Linked DNA regions of Homo sapiens: regions 1 and 3 are each linked to region 2. Evidence: promoter capture Hi-C in human tissues and cell types (Jung and others, 2019). All regions are on one chromosome and are shown on one strand. Each heading gives the region's core, a stretch centred on a gene start or on the middle of the fragment in contact. The rest is flanking DNA. Distances are from core to core; before and after follow the strand shown. Region 1 overlaps LOC107984685 (a long non-coding RNA gene). Region 2 holds the start of FOXG1 (forkhead box G1). Region 3 overlaps LINC02326 (long intergenic non-protein coding RNA 2326).

What was found. The method cuts DNA at HindIII sites, captures the fragments that hold promoters and counts their contacts. A contact is called where the count stands out against the background at its distance.
Region 1: a contact is called between a fragment that was not itself captured here and the fragment with the promoter of FOXG1 in region 2, in 2 of the 25 tissues and cell types used here (mesendoderm cells and thymus).
Region 3: a contact is called between a fragment that was not itself captured here and the fragment with the promoter of FOXG1 in region 2, in 4 of the 25 tissues and cell types used here (IMR-90 fibroblasts, dorsolateral prefrontal cortex, lymphoblastoid cells and 1 more).

Annotation. Positions count from the first base shown.
Region 1 is chr14:29,074,161-29,077,597 of GRCh38, reverse strand. All of the region lies in intron 8 of LOC107984685 (a long non-coding RNA gene), which reads right to left. Among named protein-coding and RNA genes, the nearest start is that of LINC02326, 11 kb to the right of the region's middle. The HindIII fragment of the contact is 7,574 bases long and covers 1-3,437 here.
Region 2 is chr14:28,764,457-28,768,036 of GRCh38, reverse strand. It overlaps FOXG1 (forkhead box G1), which reads right to left and starts at 1,250. Exons shown (of 1, transcript NM_005249.5): 1 at 1-1,250. The coding sequence starts at 757. It overlaps FOXG1-AS1 (FOXG1 antisense RNA 1), which reads left to right and starts at 2,718. Exons shown (of 7, transcript NR_125758.1): 1 at 2,718-2,877. RefSeq lists an enhancer at 1,595-2,119. The HindIII fragment of the contact is 7,501 bases long and covers 1-1,801 here.
Region 3 is chr14:29,031,214-29,034,712 of GRCh38, reverse strand. All of the region lies in intron 2 of LINC02326 (long intergenic non-protein coding RNA 2326), which reads left to right. All of the region lies in intron 5 of LOC107984685 (a long non-coding RNA gene), which reads right to left. Among named protein-coding and RNA genes, the nearest start is that of LINC02326, 32 kb to the left of the region's middle. The HindIII fragment of the contact is 5,798 bases long and covers 1-3,499 here.

The sequences.
Region 1 (3,437 bases), core at 19-2,518, 310 kb before region 2:
GAAATAATTTTGGAAAAACAAATCACATTCTCTATCTTGATTTAAAGGTAATGATTAAGAGCAATTCCACTCCACTTTTACGCCGTTGAAAAGTGTACAGCTATGTAAATCAGTGGTGCTCAGTCAGGAGTGATTTTGTCCCCAAAATGTATCTGGTAACATCTAGAGACATATTTGACTTTCAAAATTTGGAGAGGAGGTGCTACTGGCATTTAATTGGTAGACACCAGTAATGCTGCTAGACATCTTACAACATACAGTAGAGACTCCCAACAAAAGAGAATTTTTAGACCAAAATGGCAATAGTGTCAAGGCTGAGATATCCTGATGTACATTAAAATATATGTATAGATTATTTATTAAAAACATTATTCATATTAGTCAAAAGTGGAAGAAAAAGCAAACGTATATCACAATTCAAATTTATAATTGAGATATATGCATACATTAGAATACTACACAGAAAAAAAAAACAGAAAATAAAGGTTTCGAATTAACCCTTTTTAAAATGTTGAGATAAGTATAGATTCACATGAAGTTCTAAGAAATCATATGGAAAGATCCTGTGTACTCTTCATTCAATTTCAATTTCAATCCCTGATAACCTCTTGTGAAAATAAGGAACAATGTCACAAGTAAAAAAAAAAAAAAAAACCACACACGCACACACACACAATATAATCCACTGATCTTTTTCATATTTTCCCAATTTTATACACATGTATGTGCATGTGTTTAATTAGCTGTATGCAATTTTAACAGATATGTATGTTTGTGTAAATGCCATCATATTAAATATGCAAAACAGTGCCATTGCCACAAGGATCTGTTGTGCTTCCTTTTTATAATCACATCCACCCCCCTTCTGCCATCTTTCCCATTCTTAACCTCTGACCATGACTAATCTGCTCTCTATCTTTATAATTTTGCCATTCAAGAATGTTAAATGAGTAGAATTATACAATATATTACCTTCTGGGATTGGCATTTTTCATTCATCATAATCCTTTTAAAGTTCATTGAAGTTGTTGCATTTATCAATAGCTTGTTCATTTTTATTTCTGAGTAATATTCTTTGATCTGGATGTACCACAGTTTGTTTAAACATTCACTCCATTGAAAGAGATTTGCGTTGTTTCCAGTTTTTAACTACTGTGAATAAAGCTGCTATAAACATTTGTATACTGGTTCTTACTTGAACATAAGTTTCTATTTCTCTGGGAGAAAGTGCTCAAGAGAGCAACTGCTGGATTGCATGTTTAATTTTATAAAAATAAAACCCTGCCCAACTGTTTTGCAGAATGTCTGTACCATTTTACATTCCCATCAGCAATGTATGAGTGATCAAGTTTCTTTGCAACCTTGCCAGCATTTCGTATTGCCATTACAGTTTGTTTAACCATTCTGATAGCTGTATAGTGTTGTCTCGTTGTGATTCAATTTGCAATTCCTTAATGGCTAGTAATGTCAAACATCTTTTTATGTGTTTATTTGCCATCCATATGAAAGATTTCCTAAAAAGCTTTGAGGTGAGATGTTGCCTAGCATGTCCTAGGACAGCCATTGTGGCTGGAGAAAAGATAATGGGAGGTAAAGTTGCAGGAAATGATGTCAGTGAAGTAGTGTGGCATGTGCCAGCTCATGTATTCTAGGTCATTGTAAGTACATTGGCTTTTGTCCTGAGTGAGAACTGATAAGTGGTATAAGATGAGTTATATTTTAACTGGATCATTCAATGTTCAACATTAACCAAAGGGACATAAGATGTAAAGATGGAGACTATGAAGCTGTGCAATTACTTGAGTAATAGCAATAGCTTAGATGGAAAGGGTAGCAGAAGTGGTGAGATGTTTTATTCAGTATATGTTTTGAAAGTAGAGTCAAAAGGAGTTTTATGATAGATTAAAGGTGGATGTAGAAAAGACTAAGATAACTCAAACTTTCTGGAGATACTTGTGATACATCCAAGTGGGCATATCTATGTAGCCAACTGAATATTTCAACAGCTGTCAGCAGAACTCAATATATTTCACCCAGTTGGCTTGAATCTGAAACATTCTCCTTTTTGCACTTCCATAAGAAAGTACTCTACTAGTTTCCTCTGCCTTATTGGATGCTCTTCTAAGACTTCTTTGCTGACTCTCTCTCTACCCTGCTCAGGGTCTATCCTAGACCTTCTTATCATTAATAATTAGATATCATCGATAGGATCTTGGCTCTTAAATATATATCTCCAGTATAGACAAAACCTTAAATTACAAACTAGTTTATGTGACTGCCTACTTAACCTCTCCATTTCAGTGTATGATAACTGTTTTAAATTTGGCAGACCTGAAATCAATCTTCTCTTTGCCAAACCCTGCTTTTCTCCTATCTTCCTGCAATGGCAACTCTATCTAGTTGTTCAGGAATGAAACCTATCTCTCATCCTATATATCTAAACAAATCTTATTTACTTGAAGTCCAAACATATCTCAAATTGACCCATTTATCCCCATCTGATTTGCTGCCATTCTTATTGGAGATATTATTATCTCTTTCTTAAACTTTTTATCATAGCCAGATAATTGATCTCTCTTCCTTCTACTCTTGCCCCATTTAAAACATACTCTGAGCGGCAAAGTTATCCTTTAAAAATATATATCATGCAATCATAAATAAACATAAAAGACAAAAGAAAGACTCTTGTTTATAGTAGAATGTTGAGTGCTGATTCATAAATATAAAGGGAGTGCTAGAGCTGTAAAATTATTACCTTGCAAATATCACTCCAAAGATTATTTCAGGCAGGAAACATCAACTGATGCTAAATTTAGAGGGCGTGGATTTTTTTTTTTTTTTTTCCTGAGACAGAGTATTACTCCGCTGCCCAGGCTGGAGTGCAGTGGCCGACTCTCGGCTCACTTCAACCTACGCCTCATGGGATCAAGGGATTCTTATGCCTCAGCTTCCCAAGTAGCTGGGACTACAGGTACGCACCACCATGTCCAGCTAATTTTTTGTATTTTCAGTAGAGACAGAGATTCACCATGTTGGCCAGTCGAACTCCTTGCCTGAAGTGATCCAACACCTTGGCCTCCCAAAAAGCTGAGATTACAGGTGTGAGCCACTGCACCAGGCCATTTTTTTTTTTCTGAATTTTGATGAGGAGACAGGTACTTGCATTATCTTAAAATGTGTCCCCACATTGTTTAGTAGCAAGGAAAAACTAATAACTATAATGTTGGAGAATCAGACAATCTTGAGTGGAGCAAATATATATTGTGTATCTCTCCGTGAGAAAACCTGAAAAGGATACAACATCACTTATGCATGTTGGGAAAGCATAAACTGAAATTAACCATGGAGAATTATCAGACAACTCAAAAGTGATAATTATTCTACTAAAACGTGAGATTGTGTACTTCAAAAATTTCAGTGTCATATGGGACAAAAGA
Region 2 (3,580 bases), core at 1-2,500:
TGCCCTTGCCCGGGTCGTCGTAGTGGCGCGGCACCTTCACGAAGCACTTGTTGAGGGACAGATTGTGGCGGATGGAGTTCTGCCAGCCCTGCTTGTTCTCGCGGTAGTAAGGGAAGTTCTTCATGATGAACTCGTAGATGCCGTTGAGCGTGAGCCGCTTCTCGGGGCTCTGCCGGATGGCCATCATGATGAGCGCGTTGTAGCTGAACGGCGGCTTCTCGTACTTGCCGTTCTTCTTCTCGCCCTCCTTGCCCCCCTCCCCGTCCTTGCCGCCCTCGCCCGCCCCCTTCTTCTCCTCCCCCCCGGCGCCGGCGCCCTTCTCCTTCTCGTCCGGCCCGACGGGCGCCAGCTCCCCCGGCCCGCCGCCCGGCTCGCCCTTGCCGCCCAGCCCGTCCGCTTTAGCCCCGTCCAGGGCGGCGGCCGGTGGTGGCGGTGGCGGCGGCGGGAGCAGCAGCTGCTGGGGGCCCTTGTCGTCGTCGGCGGCCGGGGCGCCCCGCGTCTGGGGGGGCTGCGGTGCCGGGGGCGGCGGCGGCGGCGGCTGCTGCTGCTGCGGCGGCGGCGGCGGTTGCGGGGCGGGCGGCGGCGGGTGGTGGTGATGGTGGTGGTGGTGGTGGTGGTGCTGGGGGTGGTGGCTGTTGTGGTGGCCGTGGCTCGCGTGGTGGTTGTCGTTCTGGACCGCCTCGGGCACCAGGCTGTTGATGCTGAACGAGGACTTGGGGATCATTTTCACCTCTTTCCTATCTCCCATGTCCAGCATCACCCAGTCGTCGGGGGGAAACGGCGGCGGCGGCGCGGGAGCGGGACAGCGGCGCGGCGGGCGGCGGCGACCGGTGGGTGCCGAACGGGGCGCGGGGGGCGCGGGCGGCAGCGGCGGCACTGAGCGCTCCGGCAGCAGCGCAGTTGGACCGCAGGCTCGGGCGCTGGCAAGTCATGTAGCAAAAGCAGCAACCACCCCTCAGGAATTAGAAAAAAAAAAAAAAAGGAAAAGAAAAAAGAAAGAAAGAAAAAAGAAACAACCACCGCCCCGGGGGTGAAGCTCCCTCGCTCCCAACTGTACTTCTTGGTCTCCCCCCCCACCCCCCGCTCCCCCCCCCGCTGCTTCCTCCTCCTCCTCCTCCTCTCGCAGCAGCAGTCACAGCAGCAGCAGCAGCAGCCCAAAGGGGGGGAGAGCCGGGCGGCGGGCGGGCGCGTCCCGGAGCGGCCGCGGCGAGGCTGGGGAGACAGCGATCGAGGCGGCTATAGCCACAATTAATTTTCCGAGCTACAGGCGCACACTAGGGCTGTAAAAAAATTTTTGGTTTAACCTTTCCTACCGCTGGGCCAATCAGAGCTGGCGGCGTGCGGGAGCGTCTCTCTCGCCGTCGACCAATCGGAGGGGCCGGGCCCACCCACCCCCGCCCCGCCCGCCGGCTGCCGCCCCCTCGGGCGCTCGCCTCCCCCTCTCCGCGGGCCTCGGACCCCGAGGCCGCGCGGAGCCGCGTAGGGATACGCCGGCGGGAGCACGCGGTGCCGCAGCCCTTCCCTGCGCCCCCGCCACCCCCTCCACCCCGCCGGCTCCGCTCCACCGAAATTCCCCTCCTAGGGCCAATAGCTCACATTTCCGGCTTCCTCCTCATTGTACTGGGTCATTTTCGTTTAAGCGTCAATATTTGTCCTTAGTGATTAAAGTTTGTATCCAATTTTATTTTTGAAAGCGGGGGTGGTGGTGGTAGTGGGAAGAGTGGGAGTGCAGGGAGAGGATGCGAGAGGGCAGGAAATGGAGGAGGTAGAGGCGAGGCACTACTTTTCCGAGTCGGCCTTGCAGGCCAGTGTCTGGCATTTCTGAGCCAGCAGGAAAATTGTGCCCTTTGTAGGTAATAGTCTAGCGCAGCTTTGGATAAGGGGGGAGATAAGGCCCACCGCTGGCGTGTGTGCGGGGGTGTCCTTTACTTCGGGGGAGGAGGGTGTGGGAGAGCTTTGGGAGCGATGAGATGAGGAGGAGGAAGTGGGCAGAGGAGCGCGGGGCCAAACAGGGGTTACTTACTCGATTCCTGAGGCCTGGGCGGCGGCGAGCTCCGGGCTCCGGCACCGCGGGGAAACCGGGACTGGGGCTCCGGGTGCTGCTGCGGCGGCCGGGGCCGCTCAGTAGTGGGCGCCTCTGATGGCCTTCCGAAATGAGAGGTGCCCAGAGAGAAAACAGTACCAAACAATCTCGAAATAAATCAGGTAACACATGCTATATACGTGTGTCTCTTCCTTTTCCTTCTCTCCTGCTCCAGAGCGTCGCTCACGCGCGGGGTGACTCGATGTCGTTTTCTCCTCGCCGCTCCAGCCTCAGCTTCTAATCCGAATTGGAAGCGGGTAGCTGCGAGCGATCACCCTGGAAATATTTTCGTTTTGCTTGTTGACATTGGAGGGAAAATAAGGGTGGGCGTCTATTTCTTTCCGGTTTTTTTTTTAAGCCTTCCTATTTTCACTCCTTTTTTTTCCTTTCCGTTTCTCAAATGCTTTTATTTTGTGCGGGCCTCATTCCTGAAATAACAGTATACTGAAGCCAGCTCTTGCCAACCCTGAGTGCTGCTGGAAAGCACCGGGGAGCCTTGGGAACGTGGATCTCACAGTCCCAGCTTCTTGGGCTTTGGAACTGGGAAGGTTCGGTTGGAGGTTGAAGTGAATGGGGAAATTGCGAATCGGGGGCTTTAAAAGGATCCCGTGGCCAGGGGCAGGGCTAAGGCCCAGCATTTCCCAGGGATTGGAATTTAGTGGGGAGCACATTGATCAAAGGCTGTTTCATCCCACATGGGCACGAAACATACCACATTTTACGGAGGATGTAGCCCCAGAGAAGAGGGAGGTGGAGAAGCATAAATGAAAGGCACCTTTTCCTTCCTCTAGAAGGTAAATAATTATAAAATGTAAGCATTTCTTCACTTGGATAAACTTTCATTAAGATATCTGGCAGATTTGGTATTTAAGAAAACGAAGGAAGGAAAATTGGTGCTTATGCTTGATCCTAAAGTTAAATTGTAACATAAAGAATGCGGTTGATGAATACTCAGGATAATAGGGGGTTATTCCATCCTCCCCACCCCCAGTCTTAAGAAAGAGAAAGAGAGAAAAGGTTGGGGGGGGGGGAGGAAACTGGAGAGAATAATAGATAATTACAAATAGCTAGTGAATTTTAAATATGCATCTATTAGGAATGCCACAAAGGAGCTTTGAATATTGGACTAACCTCAAATGTCCTTCCACTGTATGTATGTATCTTTACCTATGTCTACATATCTTCTCACTTTAAAACAAACTGTATTTACATGTGGAAAAATTCAAGGGTTCCAACAATCAGTGTTGATAGTGACATGGTCCCAAACATTTATTTCCAAGCTCTGGATTTCTCGCAGGGCCGGGTGAGCTAATGGGCTTTGCCTACCGGCTGGAGAGATTTGTGGGCCTTCCCCTTCCTACTCACTTTTCCTCCTCCCACTCTTCTCCCCTCTTCAGGCCCGTTCTTCCTACTTTTCCTCAACTCTCCTTCCTCCCTCCTCCCTCCTTCTCCCTTAGCTCCCCCCGCCCCTTCCCCCCACCCTCCATTCCTCTGTCT
Region 3 (3,499 bases), core at 613-3,112, 270 kb before region 2:
CCCAGAATTTTAACTATAACTTTACACATCTTTAATAAGAAGACTCATGTTCCTGTGACCAGTATTCATGACAAATGGTAATTCTAATTAAAAAAAAAAAAAAAACAGGTTTACTCTACCATTAACAGAGAGAGGCTTTTTTTTCTCAGAAAGGAAAATATTTTAACTGAAAAACCAGTACCATATGGCAAGGAAATACATGCCTCTGTATAAAAGCCTCACCCTCTAATGCTCTTTACTGATGTTCTGTTTGGATATTTGCTGATGATTTTTGTATGTCCTATTTGCCCTAATACATTGTGGATCTTTATAAAGCAACCAGCACATAAAATATCCTTGCCTAGATATTTTAAGTCTAGGATTTTATAATTGTAAAGCTAATTTCCATAATAGATTCAAAAGATTTTTAAAATGAAATTTCTGTCTTCCCATAATTATGTAACTCACCAAAGCATTTTTATGTGTGTCCTTAAAAATGTTAACAGTCTGAATGTTCAAGTTGTTGCTTCACTAACCAATATAGCTAATATAAAAATATATATGGCACAAAGATTGACCTTATTCTTCTGCTCAGAGAAGCTTCTGTGATGGCTAAGACTCTAGCCAGTATTGAAATAAAGAAGATTGAAATACGAATTATGTCTTGTCTTTGCTGGGTTGGAGCGATCTATGAGAATATTCCAGAAGGTTCACTAGCCAGTTTTGACAGAGTCTGTTGGTTCTCCATGTATTCCTTTACATTTCCTAGCTTCCCCTGCAGTTAGGTTGAAACTATGTGACATGTTTTAGACACTAGACTATGAGCAGAAGAGTCACTTCTGGTTTCAGAGACGTGTTGCCTCCATTTCTCCCTGCCTCTCCTCCAGTGGTTTTACAGTCTCTCTGTTCCAGACCAGGACTACAAGATAATAGGGCCCTCTGTGCACCATTGCTAGCTCTTATTAGACATGTAAGGTTGGATGTGGTAAGGCACCGAGATATTGGGGTTGATTTGTTACAACATAACTTAGCCATGCTTAATGAAAATGAAGATGAATTTCACTTAGACAAATGTGGAAGATAGGGGTGGTGTAAGAATTTATTATACATTCAGATAAGCAAACTCAGTGGACTTCCTGTGTATATTTCCCACATCTAAAATCACATCCTTTAAATAACCAAAAAAGTACACTTAAAAAAAATCCTTTTCTGTTTCCTTTTCAACCCAAATAATTAACATCTTGGAATAGATGTTATGAAATATATAGATAATTACAGGTACAAACATGAAGAAAAATTCAAGAGGAAAACTTCTTGGAACAAGAAAAATTTCAGTAAAACTCATGTAACTTTGACTACCTGTGCCTAGTGAAACTGCCACATTTGTCTAATTTTAAATTCATCCTATGACCAATCATTGTGCTCAAGAGTTACCTTCACTTCAGTGGATGCTGTGGCACAATAGATAAATCCCTTCTTTAAAACTAAGGTGCTCACTCCTCCAGCTGCAGGAGAGTTGCTGCTGAGAGCTCACAGCTGAGTCTCTCCCCAGGATTTGCCCTCGACTGAAGAGAGCTGCCTGTTCAAAGTCTGCCCCTTCCCTGGGATAGCCTACTCCCAAAGACTTGTGGGCATGGTGGGTACAAAGGCCTTGCCTCTTTTTGCCTCTGTTTGGAACATCTTTGAACTGCTATCCCCATCAGATGTGTTGGGGCCTCTGTTACACCTTTACTACATTTTAACTCTTCCCTTGGCAAACTCTATTTTCCTTTCTACCTAGTATATGTTATTCCCAAGAGCTCTCCCCAGTAATCCTCCTGCAGATAGATCTCTGTTCTGAGTCTTTTTCCTGAGGAACTCAACTTATGCTATCTGTAAGGCACATAACAGAATTGCAGCTTACAATGAAAGGGTAGTTTGTGCATAAAGAGAATCTGAATCTTTTTCTTTTTTTAGGTATCTAAAGTAAATGGCCTTATGTATAATCCTGAATTATAAGTGAGTATTTTAATATAATTTTTACTTTGAAATAATTTTAGCTTTCCAGAGAAATTGCAAAATATTACAAAGAGTTCCTGTATATTTTAACCCACTTTTCCCAAATGTTAACACCTTACATTACCATAGTATAGTTGCCAAAACTAAGAAATGAACCTTGATGCATAACTATTAACTAACCACCAGATTTCATTCAAATTTCACCACTTTTTCCATTAATTGCCTCTTTCTGTTCCAGGATACATTCAGGATACAATATCACATAGAGACAATAGTCATTTTTGATTGGCAAAGTTAATGAAACAATTATATGCACATATGCCTGTATATATACAAATGACTTTAATGGCTAACAATATAAGAAATACTTTTTTAAATCTATATTTGTATAGCATACCAGTCTAATACTAATTAGCTGTTTGACTTTATGCATAGTTCTTCATTTCTCTGGGCCTCAGTTGACACATATATAAATAAGCAGGGTTAAATTTGATATCTTCTGTTCTTTCCATTTTTACATTCTGTGCTTCAATGCTGTTAAAGATGACGTGAAATTTTGTAGAACATTTAGCAGGAAAGAACATTTTCCTATTAAAAATTACAATTAAAACTGAAGATTTCTAATTAATGTAAATAAAGTGGGCATACCTCCATAAACTTGGTGGGATAAAAATTGATATAATTTTTATCATTAATTTGAATTTTTTAAAATGCCAGATAGTTCCCTTGAGCAACCAAAAAAATAAATAAATAAAAAACAAAAGATTGAGATAGAACAAGAAAAAGGTACACAGATGAAAAGATGAGAAAGCATTTGGAGTAATTCTTAGGAAAGTTTAGTGCAGAAGGAGAAGGCTCTTAAAGGTTCATAACTCATTAGTTAAGTATATTAATGTAGGGTTGGCAAAGAAATGGCCTGGACTGATAATGCTGGTGATTAGAAAACCTCAGAAGATGCCACATTCTGACCAACATTTAATTATTTTTTGTAAATAGAAAGCTAGTTCAATAGGTCAAAATGAGAATGGTTATTATTCTGCAGAAGAACATCAATTTCTTAAAAATAAATTATGTTAATTTCTAGGCTTGTTGTTGCAAATGAAGAAAAAACTATATAAAGAAGTACAGTACATGCTTTAATTCAAATCCTTTCCATTACAAGACTCATTTAATAAAACTCTACTTGTGACAGTCACTTGTAATTTGTAAATAAACATTAACTTAAATATGAACACTAAGTGATAGTGTGTATCTCGCTTGCAAAAGAAAAGCTGTAATATAAAGAGTGATTACTTATTTAAATATATTCTAAAATTATTGATGAAATTTTAAGTATTCATCTGAATCAATTTATTTACAAAAATAATGTGGTAAATTTCATGATTAATACAATTACAATAGGGTTCAGAGTTTAATTTCTAGCAATGAGCGTGTTTGTTTTCCTAATTTCTACAGAGCATTTTTAATATTGGTACTCTTGCATAATGGAAACCTTCTGGAAATTTGTATTTTATCCAAACAC